Regions from separate parts of the Homo sapiens genome. Here all the other regions are linked to region 3. The links are contacts of gene promoters, found by promoter capture Hi-C in human tissues and cell types (Jung and others, 2019). All regions are on one chromosome and are shown on one strand. The core of a region is centred on a gene start or on the middle of the fragment in contact, and the rest is flanking DNA. Distances in the headings are between cores, read along the strand shown. Region 1 holds the start of NOL10 (nucleolar protein 10). Region 2 overlaps ADAM17 (ADAM metallopeptidase domain 17). Region 3 holds the start of KLF11 (KLF transcription factor 11).

What was found. Contacts are between HindIII fragments. The study calls those that stand out against the background at their distance.
Region 1: a contact is called between the fragment with the promoter of NOL10 here and the fragment with the promoter of KLF11 in region 3, in 2 of the 25 tissues and cell types used here (adrenal gland and small bowel).
Region 2: a contact is called between a fragment that was not itself captured here and the fragment with the promoter of KLF11 in region 3, in 1 of the 25 tissues and cell types used here (dorsolateral prefrontal cortex).

The regions. Positions count from the first base shown.
Region 1 is chr2:10,687,685-10,691,765 of GRCh38, forward strand. It overlaps NOL10 (nucleolar protein 10), which reads right to left and starts at 2,291. Exons shown (of 21, transcript NM_024894.4): 1 at 2,112-2,291. The coding sequence starts at 2,177. It also overlaps the pseudogene RN7SL832P. RefSeq lists enhancers at 1,738-1,797, 1,858-2,137. The HindIII fragment of the contact is 16,217 bases long and covers 1-4,081 here.
Region 2 is chr2:9,490,694-9,494,568 of GRCh38, forward strand. ADAM17 (ADAM metallopeptidase domain 17) reads right to left here. Exons shown (of 19, transcript NM_003183.6): 16 at 3,054-3,132; 17 at 2,205-2,293; 18 at 408-458. It also overlaps a transcript of IAH1 not described here. Among named protein-coding and RNA genes, the nearest start is that of IAH1, 18 kb to the left of the region's middle. The HindIII fragment of the contact is 5,937 bases long and covers 1-3,875 here.
Region 3 is chr2:10,040,909-10,044,799 of GRCh38, forward strand. It overlaps KLF11 (KLF transcription factor 11), which reads left to right and starts at 2,642. Exons shown (of 4, transcript NM_003597.5): 1 at 2,642-2,850. The coding sequence starts at 2,809. KLF11-DT (KLF11 divergent transcript) reads right to left here and starts at 2,493. Exons shown (of 3, transcript NR_135558.1): 1 at 2,402-2,493; 2 at 1,725-2,096; 3 at 645-743. RefSeq lists a promoter at 1,900-2,799 and silencers at 2,486-2,715, 3,006-3,055, 3,176-3,225, 3,266-3,335. The HindIII fragment of the contact is 11,158 bases long and covers 1-3,891 here.

The DNA of each region.
Region 1 (4,081 bases), core at 1,041-3,540, 650 kb after region 3:
GCAGTGGCTCATGCCTGTAATCCCAGCACTTTGGGAGGCCGAGGTGGGTGGATCACAAGATCAGATCGAGACCATACCGGCCAACATAGTGAAACTCCGTCTCTACTAAAAATACAAAAATTAGCTGGTGTGGTGGCACGTGCCTGTAGTCCCAGCTACTGGGGAGGCTGAGGCAGGAGAATCGCTTGAACCCGAGAGGTTGCAGTGAGCCAACATCAGGCCATTGCACGCGACCTCAAAAAAAAATCTTGATTCTTTTTGCTCACTACGTTCCTCCTCTCCACCTTTCAATGTGTTCCTTCTTGATTCTTCTCCATGTCAGTTAGCAGCACCACCGTGCACCCACTTGTTCAGACTCAAAACTGAAGAGTTCTCTGATTCCTTCCTTTTTGTCACCTCAACTTCCCTCTACCAACAGTCCAATCCATTAGCAAGTTCCATTACCCTATCTACAAAGTATGTCCTGAATCTCACTGTGTTTTAGCATCTTCTTTGTTACCAGGCAAGCCCAAGCCACCGAAGTCGCTCACCTGGACTACCTAATTCATCCCGACTTGAACCCTCCCCAGCTAGACATTTGTCGCACAGCAGCCCACACAACAGTGACTTCCAGCAGCACTAAGAATAAAACTTGAACTTCCTACCTTTCCTACCAGGCCTACCTCTCCAGCCTCATCCACCCTGCTCTCGCCCCCTCACTCAGCATAGTGCAATCACACCTGTGCCTCTTCCGTCCTCCTACATGTCCAGTGCATTCCCATGTGGGGCTTTTGCACTTTCTGTTCTCAGCACTGAAAACTCTTCCCCACATCTTCACACGACTGGCTCCTCTTCATCATCCAAGTTTCTGCTCATATGTCACCTCTTGTAGAGAGGCCTTCCCCGAAGGTTTTATCCAAAACACTTTCTCTCAATATTTTATCCAAAACAGCTCTCTTCTAATCATTCACCACGAAAAGTACTTTTTGACTACCTTAAATTGCCTTATTTGCTCACTTGTTTATTTCCCTTTTCCCCAACAGGGAACCTTATCTGAAATGTCCACTATAGATCCCAATACTTAAAACAGAGTTGCTTGCACACAGTAACTTCTCAATACATGTGGAGAATGAATGAACAAAATGAGAAAGCTCATGGGGTGTGAAGAACAACTGGAAGACAGGGAATTATTCAAACCAGAATTTTAGGAAGAAAGGAAAAACCTAAGCACTGGCTCCAAATTTTTGTAGAAGCAGACGCATGGAAGGAGAGCTATATTTATTCTGTTTTCCAAGGGCAGGACTCAGGCCAACAGTGGCATGCTATAAGGTGACATATTTGAAAACCACTTTCTAACAAGTGCAGAGTCTCAAAATGGAAATGAGCTTCCACAAAAGGTAGTGCTCAGTGGTAGTGCTTGGACAGAGGCTGGATCATCACGTATAAGAAACAAAAGACAAGTTTCAGAGCCTAAGTGTGTCATGCTGGACAAGTCACCCTTCCCCTTGCTGGATCTCAGCTGCATATTAAACGCATTATTAAATCTCAGCTGCATTACTAAACACGAGAAGATTGGAAGAGAATTACCGACTTGTCCAAGCCCTCTCCAACTTTAAGACTAGGAATCAGGTTAAGTTCAACAAGTCTCGAAAATACTGTCCTCTACACCATAAATTCTGCAGATGCGAAGTCTGTATCTCCCTTGTTCACTGTTGTATCCCTAAGACCTGGCAAATGATAGGGACTCCACAAACAGCTGATGGCCATATGGGGGAGAGATGTGTCAACGAATCTGCCACGTTTTCCTCCTCGATGTACGGCAGGGACTGTGAACACCCAAAGAGGCCCAAATGGTTGCGTTCTCTGGAACAGAGAACTTTACAAAAGTTCCAGCAAAGCTCACTGACCCTGATTATCCCTTGGTCCAGTTTCTGGCGCGGTGACGGCAGTGTCCTTGTCTCCCAATGCCGACACCTCCCCCGGAAATTGTCAGCCGCCTCTGGGCCTCCCCGAGTCGGGGGGTGACCAGCGTCCAGCTAAAACAGAGGCTAGGGCCGAGGAGAGGGGCGGCTGCCCCACGAGGAGGACGACCCCCAAGAGCTCGAGAGTGAGGGGGCCGGGAAGTGACTCACCTCAGGAAGGGACTTGCCGCAGCTGAGGCTGTAAATCTTCACCTCATTGAGGCTGGAGACCTGCATGGCGCCGCACAACACTGTTCAAGTCCCGGGTCCTTTCCCACCAGCGTGCTCGAGCACCGTAATCCCGGGACCTCCGAGCCCCTGCTCCGCGGCGTGCGGCCGCTGGCGCCGACTGATGACGCACTTCCTGGAGCCGGAACACGCGGGCAAGTTCCCGGAAGAGGGAAGGTGGCTGAATCCGGGAAGAGCGGCGGCCGGGAGAAAAACTAGTGAGGCTCTGACAACCCGGCGTGGCTGTCGGCGACGCTGCTACGGGCAAGACTAGACACAAGCCGGGCGCGGTGGCTCACGCCTGTAATCCCAGCACTTTGGGAGGCTGAGGCGGGCGGATCACCTGAGGTCGGGAGTTCGAGACCAGCCTGACCAATATGGTGAAACCCCGTCTCTACTAAAAATACAAAAAAATTAGCCTTGCGTGGTGGCCGGCATCTGTAGTCCCAGCTACACGGGAGGTTGAGGCAGGAGAATTGCTTGAACCTGGGAGGCGGAGGTTGCAGTGAGCTGAGATCGCGCCGCTGCACTCCAGCCTGGGGGACAGAGCGAGATTCCCTCTCAAAAAAAAAAAAAAAAAAAAAAAAACTAGACACAGCTCTCCCTGCTGTTAGCATCCCGAGCGGCAGGAGGAGGCTTTCGAGTCTCTGCCCAGGCCGAGATGTCATCCTCCCGGGCGGGGGCGAGGCAGTTCAGCGAGTGAACCCAGCGAATGAAGGCGACCAGGGTGCGAATTCCGAGTGGAAGTGTATTCTCTTCTCTCCTCCAGTGTTTCTGCGATGTTACGTTAGAAGTACTGTAGGCCGGGTGCGGTGGCTCACGCCTGTAATCCTAACACTTTGGGAGGCCGAGGCGGGCGGATCACCTGAGGTCAGGAGTTCAAGACCAGCCTAGCCAAGATGGTGAAACCCCGTCTCTACTAAAAATACAAAAATCAGTCGGGCCTGGTGGCGCGCGCCTGTAATCTCAGCTACTCTGAAGGCTGAGGTGGGGGAATCGCCTGAACCCGGGAGGCAGAGGTTGCCGTCAGCTGAGATCGTGCCACTGCAGTCCAGCCTGGGCAACAGAGTGAGACTCCGTCTCAAAAAAAAAAAAAAAAAAAAAAGAAGACTGTGGCGTCATCTTCAACCCATTCCTATCTCTGGCCCTCACTTTCAGTATCTAAACCTGGATATTTCTAATTATGAAATATTTCCTTAAAGTAATCTGTTTTCATTCCTCCTGCTGAAACTCAAATACTTAACTATTTTTGGATTATAACTTTCCCAAGTGATCTTCTTACTTCCTTTGATTTAATGAACAAATTATTTTATGCCTTACTTTCTAAAACCCAAATATTATTGTTTTGCTCTCCTACCCACAACATTTTGGAAACTCTCAAATACCAACACCACATTGCATCAGAATTAGGTTGAGAGTTCTTCGTGGACCCTATATCATTTGTCCTTATATTCCCTATCCACCCCATCCACCCCTACCCAGAGTACCAGAACAGTGCCTGGCCTCTATTAGGCATTGCTACATATTTACATTTAGCCATGTACGTAGGGATATATTCCTTAACTCTGTCCTCAAATTTAAGATCCTCCACAAATTTTTAATTTTCTACACTGGTTACAGTTAAGAAAAACTGTAAACATCTTTGGGAAAGGTGGCATAATAGAATGGTTAGATCACAGACTCTGGCTTGGCTTGGTGGTGCAGGCCTATTGTCCTAGCTACTAGTGAAGCCGAAGCAGGAGAATCACTTGAGCCCAGGAGTTCTTGGCTGTAGCACGCAACGAGCGTTGGGTGTCCTCAGTTTGGCATCAATATGGTGACCCCACAAGAGCCAGGGACCACCATGTTACCTAAGGAGGTGTGAAGCGGCTCAGGTCAGAAATGGAGCAAGTCAAAACTCCCATGCTCACCAG
Region 2 (3,875 bases), core at 1,140-3,639, 550 kb before region 3:
AAAGTAATTAATGCCATTACTTTTAATGGCAAAAACAGTAATTACTAGCTTTCAAGCATCCTGAAAACTTACTTACCATTTGAAGACCCAAAAGAGGATTCAAACCTCTCAAGGTAAGATCCCAAGAGAGAAATTGAACTCAAAATATTAACTAAGTGTTGAATGGCTAAATCACTCCTTATGGCTTGGGAAGGGGACAGCACAGCTCTTTAAATGTCCATCCATGCAACTAATCGAAGTTCACCATCACTGTTGTCAGAAGGGTAAACATTCCAACCTAGACCCTTCCTGCTGCAACATGACCTTCCATCAGCCAGTGAAAGCTCTTGCTGGGTCAGGTGAAGGTCTTTGCCTAACAGGGCCTCAGACCAGGCGAAGATTATGTTTCTTTCATATGGTATACTTACACTGGGGTGAAACAGAGACAGAGATTCATACTGTTTATCCAATTTCTTATCCTAGAAAGAAACAGCAAGAAGGTCATTCCCTACAAATACAATTCAGTTAGTGAGTACTATTTCATCACAGGCTATTCCTAACACTAACTGAAGAACTTAGAACCTGAGTTGTAGAAAGTGATAGCAGGCTCAACAGATGACAATCCATTTCTCACCCAAGCTTTAGTTATGCCACCAGTCTAGAAGTGTTTCCTTTGCACTCAAAGGAAATACATTTTGGCGTTAAGTACAGAAAGAGGCAAGGTTTAAGTGCTATGTTTTCTGAGAAATTTATCCCTCTGTGGGCAGGGGAATAATAAAGGCATCTTCCTGTGCATGAAATGACAAATGTCCCAGATGCTGGGTACACCAGGACCGCACTGACTGGAAGGGCAACTGGTAGGAAGACCCAGGTGGCTGGGCCTGCAGCATTCTTCGCACTGCCCCGGCCCATGGCCTCACTCTCTTAGCTGTCTCCACAGTTTCTGTGGACCATGCTCTGCTGGAGGAACTGGGCCTCAATCCCTACATCCTACTTCTGCAGAAGGCTAACCACATGGCCATCTGCTGCCCCATCCCTGCCTGTGGCTGAAGCATAATAGGTGACAGAGGGCAAGGACCAAGAATCCAGGACTAGGCTTCCTGTCTGGGTGCCATCAATGCATTCTATGACCAAAAACAAGCCATGGCCCTCCCTCCTATCGGAGGCTTTGCTCTGAAATCAAGGGTCGTGCCTTGTCCACATGTGCAACTTCCCTGTAAACAAAATAGGTTCCATCCTCCAATAGAAGCAATCGTGATGGATGGCACTGTCATCCAGAGACATCTGTCAAAGCTTCAAGCACGTCACCTTCAGCTTTCTTCAGCACAAGTGCTCCCTAGAGATCTTCCTATACCCATCATGCTCACCACCCTGAGGAAGAGCTGCTCTGTGAGATGGCCCCTAGGCAGGAGAAGCCAGCAGGAAAGGAAAGGAAGGAGGCAGTAGGAAAAACTCCTTTGTCATCAGAGTTGTGCTGGAATTTTTAAATGCTCATAGGAAGGCCACTATGAAAGAGTTTGGGAAAACAAGTCTGGAAGCCTGGGTGTGACTTTCTCATCTCTACAGCAGACAAATCCCCATTCCCCACAGATGCAAGTGAATGGATTCGTAAGAACATTTATGAAAAAGGGCCTCAAATTTATAAAGGACCAGGAGTTCCTTAGTCAAAGCCCAATTCAACTTGTAGCTGTTACTGATTCTGAATGAGAACAGAAAAGACTGCTTACTCTTATTTTTTGGGGAAGATGTAAATACTCTATATGACAGCTGGGCCCCAGTCCCTACATCCTATTTGTGCAGAAGGCTGAAGACATAGCCATCTGCTGCCAATAATCTACATGATATATGGGGAACATCTGAAATGCCGATGTTTGATATTTGCTCTATTGCAACGAAGTCAGCCTGAAAATGCTCTTCAATAAGGGCTTTACTCATCAAAGGACCTGGACAAATCCAGTTAAACAGTCTCCTATGCTTAAAAGTATAAAATTCCTAAGAAATTTATATATTAAAACACCAACACACAAAAATAGTATTTTTTTTAAAAGACCATTAGTTAAGCTTTCTACAAGACATGTTCCCCTAGGAATAACAACAAAAAAAGCTATTGGAAATATCAGGCCAAACTTTGCTAAGAACAAGTTTTACCTTTTCCAGAGATTACATGGTTGGAGTTGATCAAAATTTAAATAAAACATTTAATTACTTAAAAGTTGATGACTTACCACACAATGGACAAGAATGCTGAAAGGAATCCAAAATATCAAGGAGAAAACCAGGACAGACCCAACGATGTTGTCTGCTAAAAACTTTCCTGTGAACAATTCCAAACAGTTAATGTCTTGACCAAGTACTTCACAAATCTAAAGTGAAATGCTCTTAGGATATTACCATTGTGTCAAATGCCAGAGCTGCTGGCTAGACATACTACCGAGAGCAGAATGTCTGTGCTGCCTGTATTACACCACACCATCTCTCCATACCAAGTGCTTTTAAAGAAATAGCCCTCATATACTGGCTGACAGGAAGAGATTGCAGAATATTCAACATGTTACCTGGAGTAGCTGTGTCAACAGATTAATATGGAATGCTACTACTAGTAAATGCTTAAGAAGACAAAGTTTTTGTTACCTGGATATTATTTTTGTGATTAAATTATGGACTCGTGACAACATGATATACCCTGCTTCTGCAAAATATGAGGCTCACTTTTACATCAAGCAGGATTCAGTATATAGCATTCAGTCAAATAAACACTCTTACATCAATCAGGATTCAGTCTATAGCATTAAACTATGCTTATGCTAATCACATGGATATTTTTGGGTAAAGAAGGAAGCCAGTATTTTGACTTTATTTCCCTTGTCAGAAAATCTGTGCATCCAAGCTCCACGGGGACAGACTATCTATGAGTTCATTTTATTCTAGCCAACAAAGTTGTTTCATAACTAAAGCTGTGAATAGTTCCACCTTCTACTGCAGAATTAAAGCACATCACTCTGAAAGCACACTTTTCTAATGTCATCACAGAAATTGACTCAGCTCTCAGTAAGTAATCTGGGGAAATCACCTACCAAAAGTATTGATGCTCAGCTGGTCAATGAAATCCCAAAATCGTTCAATTACATCCTGTACTCGTTTCTCACATTTGCCCTATGAAGAAAAAACATACATACAGCATCATTCCCAAACACAATGTATTCAGAAGCAATGTAGCTTTATAAAAATAACTGACATGTAAAGGGCTTCATTAAAATCAAACGTTTTCCCATCTTTGACACAAGGCAATAACTTCCGCGTAATGAGTACCCAAGAAAGTAGAACATCTGTCATTAACACTTTCATAATTACTCCATTTTTACAAGTGATTTAGAATTACCAGGAGACAAAAATCAAGGAAACCAGTTTGCTAAAGATGAGGCATTCCAGTAAGGACTCTACACATACACAGTGGACAGTGAACAACACAGCCAGACTCCCTGTGAAGCCTCGTAAATCTTAAAACCCTCTCCCATCATTCTGCATGAGAAAAATTATGCTTCTCTAGAGAACAAAAGGGTCTGGCTTAAGTAAGTCAAGCAGCCTTCTAGGTCTTTCCTACTCATTCAGCACCTGTTTCAAAATCACACCCTGAATAATTTTGCAATCTTAGTCAGTTCTGTAAGTAATCTAGGAAAACATAATTAGGACCCACTGCCTGAAACCAACCAACTTTACCATAAAGTCCCCACCCCAGTCCTTCTCAGTCTCTGGGCTCAAAGCCTCCCACCACAGAAGGAAACTACAGGCAGGGACCTGAAAGCACTCCGTCTTCTCCTCCTAAGTAATACCCGTAGATAACAATGGGCCAGAAGGATGTAGCCCCACTTGTGTTTTGATTTGTTTTCATCTGCAAA
Region 3 (3,891 bases), core at 1,392-3,891:
AGATCATTCTGGCAGTGAGGTGAGGGCAGATTGTAGGGCGTCTGGCTGGAGGGAGGGAGACCTGTTGGGAGGCAGTGGCAACAATTCAGGTGAGCAGGTGGTGGCCAGGACAAGGGCTGGCGTGGGTGACATAAGAGTTTGAGAGGAACTGAGAAGGAAGAAGGGCATGTAATTGGCGGAAGACAGCAACTGTGCGAAAGGGAGGAGGTAAAGGTGACGCTCAGGTTTCTAGATCAAGGAACAGGGTCTCCAGTTGTACCCTTCACGGAGGTGAGAAATCCAGATTTGGCTGGAATCCGAGTTCAGTTTTTTGTTTGTTTTTTTGAGACTGAGTCTCTGACGCCCAGGCTGGAGTGCAGTGGTGCGATCTCGGCTCACTGCAATCTCTGCCTCCTGGGTTCAAGCGATTCTCCTGCCTTAGTCTCCTGAGTAGCTGGGATTACAGGCGCCTGCCACCGTGCCAGGCTAATTTTTGTATTTTTAGAAGAGACGGGGTTTCATCATGTTGGCCGGGCTGGTCTTCAACTCCTGACCTCAGGTGATCCGCCCGCCTCGGCCTCCCAAAGTGCTGGGATTACAGGCGTGAGCCACCGCGCCCGGCCCTGAGTTCAGTTTTTTTAAGGACACAATTAGAGGTGCTCACGGGATGTTCAAGCAGGGAGGCTGGTGGATACCTTCGATTCGCTCGTTCACCTACGTGGACTTATTAAACAGCCAGGCTCCCTGGCCTTGGGAGAGTCCTTCTGGTGGGGAGACAGATGATAAATAACTGAAGTAATGGAAAAGGGGCAGTTCAAGAAAAGTGTTGTGGAGGAAGAAAACAAGAAAGCCCGCCAGAAGGGGACTGGAGGTCGGCCCCGAGGGTGTGTCCGCTAGAGGGGGCCTCTCCAGGTGGACTGCGGGTGAGAGTAAAGGGGGCATGTGGGGGAAAAGCATTCTAGGGAACAGCAAGTGCGAGGACCTGGAGACGGCAGAGGGGCTGGTGGGACAGGCGCCCAAGAGGAGGCCCAGGCTGTCCCTCCGGGGCGTGGGGAGAGGCATGGGGCTGGGTCCCTGCAGGAGCTCACAAGCCACAGTGGGGAGCAGAAGCGTTACGCTGAGTACAGTGGGAGCCACTGAAAGGGTTAAAGACCCCTGGGGGTGCTGAGTGGGAAGAGGCTCTGGGAGCTGGAGTGGACGCAGGGAGACCAGTTATAAGGCGAATGCAGGAGTCCAGGCAAAAGAGAATATTCCAGTGTGTATCTTAAGACTTAACTTTTTACACACAGAACACCCTGCGCCCCTCTCAGAGCCTCCGGGGTCTTCATGCGAGCAGTTTATCACGGTTCTTTCGTCTTAAACCCTCTTACTATTTCAGCAAACACCCTCTCCTCAGCCTGGTCAACCCCTCTGCCCAACCCGAGTGGGCCCCGAAGGAACAAGTGGGGACCAGAGTCCTGCTCATGTGAGTGGTGGGGCCCAGCCCGTTCCCCTAAGACCAGAATTCTCTCGCTCAGAGCAAAGCCCCGGGGTGCCGGGATTCTCTCTCTGCTCCCGCTCCCTGGATGGAGCTTTTAAAAAAGGAGGATTCCTCACTGCGGCCTCTGCCCCTTGCACTGAGCGCCAACCCGCATCACAGCTCAGCAAAGGCGCGCGCAGTGAACAGACGGAGGAGGGGTGGCTCCTCGCTGAGCTGAAGGCTGCGGCGACGAAAATAAACAGCATGGTTCCTGCTCTCCACGAACCTGGCGCTGCAGACGTGGGCAAACCACACCAAGAGACGCGAGCAACCGAAATATAGGGAGAAAAAAAAAGGTGCCCTGGACAGCGGGCTAGATGTCTCCTGCAGGCTCGAGGACTTCCCGGAGGGGGCGGCGTTTTCTCGGGGCCTGGGAAGAATGGGCGGGTTTCAGCGGGCGCCTTCTGGGTGACTGCCCGTTTCGGCTTCCCCTGACCCCGTAACAGAGCGGAAGAGGCCCAGAGACGCCAGAGGAGGGGCGTCAGCGGGACACTCAGGCCAATAAGCTCTGACTCCCGCTGTCTGCAAAAATGACCGGATGCAGGAATGTCACCTAGAACCGGCCAGCTTTCCGACCTCTCCGGTCAAGGACGCATTCCTAAGAGACGAAGGGAGAATGACAGAAGTTAAAAACAACCAAACAAAAGCCAGGTTGAGGCCTCTAGGTGGGTCTCCGCTACCGATGGATTCAGCCGGTGGGGCTGCAGGAGGTTCCTATAAGCGTGGTCCCCTCTCCCCGCACCGAGTCCGGCCCCGGCCCTGGGATTTCCCCAGCCGCCGCCCCGCCCCCTCCGCCCCGCCGCCCCCGCCGCCCCGCCGCCCCCTCCGCCCCCGCCGCCCCCTCCGCCCCCGCCGCCCCCTCCGCCCCGCTTGCCCCTGGCGCCGCTGCGACCTTTCCCTTACTTTCCAGGGCCTCAGGCCCCGCCCCTCGCTCCGACCAAAACACGTGCCGCGTCCCGCCCTGCCCGATCACGCCGCGGCCAGGCTCCGATCACGCGGCCCCCCGCGGCGCTCATTGGCCGGCCGGGCACGAATTGGCTGGTGGTGGCCGGCCCCGCCCCGGCAGGGGCGCGGTGTATTTTGGTTCGCCTCCGCGCCCCGCCCCGCCAGCCGCTCCCTCCGCGGCCGCCCCGCCCCTCCCGCGCCGCGAGGGCCGCGCCGGGGCAGAGCCGCGCGGGCGGGCGAGGCGCGTGCCGGCCGCAGGAGCTCCGGGTTGCCGCCGCCGCCGCCGCCCGCAGCCCACGTGCGGCCGCTGCTGCGCCCGAGCTCACGCCCCGCGGCCGCTTTGTTGCTCCCGGCCGGCCTGCACGATGCACACGCCGGACTTCGCAGGCCCAGACGACGCGCGCGCAGTGAGTGGTGGGGCTGCCGCGGCGGGACTACTCGTCTGAGCGAGGGGCGAGGCGGGGGAAGTGGTGCGGCACTCGCGCGCCTGTAAATGCGGGAGGTGGGGCGTGCAGGGCTTCGCTGCGGCCGCGCCGGTAGGGGCCTGGGCGGGCTCCGGAGCCGGGCGGGGCGGCGGCCGCGACGGGCGCGCCCGGGTCGGCGGGGGCGAGGAGGGGGCGTGTTCCCCGCGCAGCTTTGTCTTGCGCTTCCTGGGCGGCCCCGCCCCGCTGGCCCCGCGGCTATTTCCAGCCATGACGTCACCCCGGTCCTGTGAGCCGGACGGCCGTTGGGCGGGGGAGCGGCTGGCGGGAACGCGGCACGCGGCCTTGGGGGCGGGGCAAGAGCTGCTGGCGGGAACGCGGCACGGTTTTGGGGGCGGGGCACGCGGCCGTCGGGCGGGTTAAGAGCGGCTAGCGGTAGTGCCGCTCGGGCCTGGGGGCGGGCAAGGTCTAGGGGCCGGGGCAACGACGGGAGGCGGGAGCGCCGCACTGCCTTGGAGGCGGGGCAACGCTTGGAGGCGGGAACGCGGCACGCGAGCGTTGGGGGCCCTAAGCGTCGCGACCTGGGGGCTTCGGGGAGGTAGCCGTGGACGTGGGCAGAGCGCGGGCCTCGTGGTGTGCGGGCACTGTGGGCCGGGCGAGCCCCTTCCCGCCCGTGTGGTGAGTCGGCCTCGGCGCCCGGTTCTGTGACATCACAGGGGGTTTAGTGGCGCAGCCTGCGGGACAGAGGCCGGGGATTTGAGGTGGCCTCGTCTTGTTTGATCTCGGGGAACCTCGGCAGACGGAAAGCTTTGATGCTTTGGTGCATGGCAGATAGAGAGGAAACGTGTATCTTCGTACATTTAAAGTTTCCTTTCCTTTTTTTTTTTTTTGATAGGGAGTCTCGCTCTATCGCCCAGGCCGGAGTGCAGTGGGCGCGCGATCTCGGCCCACTGTAACCTCCCTGGGAGGGAGGGGTATTACTCTTCTCAGAGTAATATCACCCTCTCGCCCCCGGCTTAGTTTTCT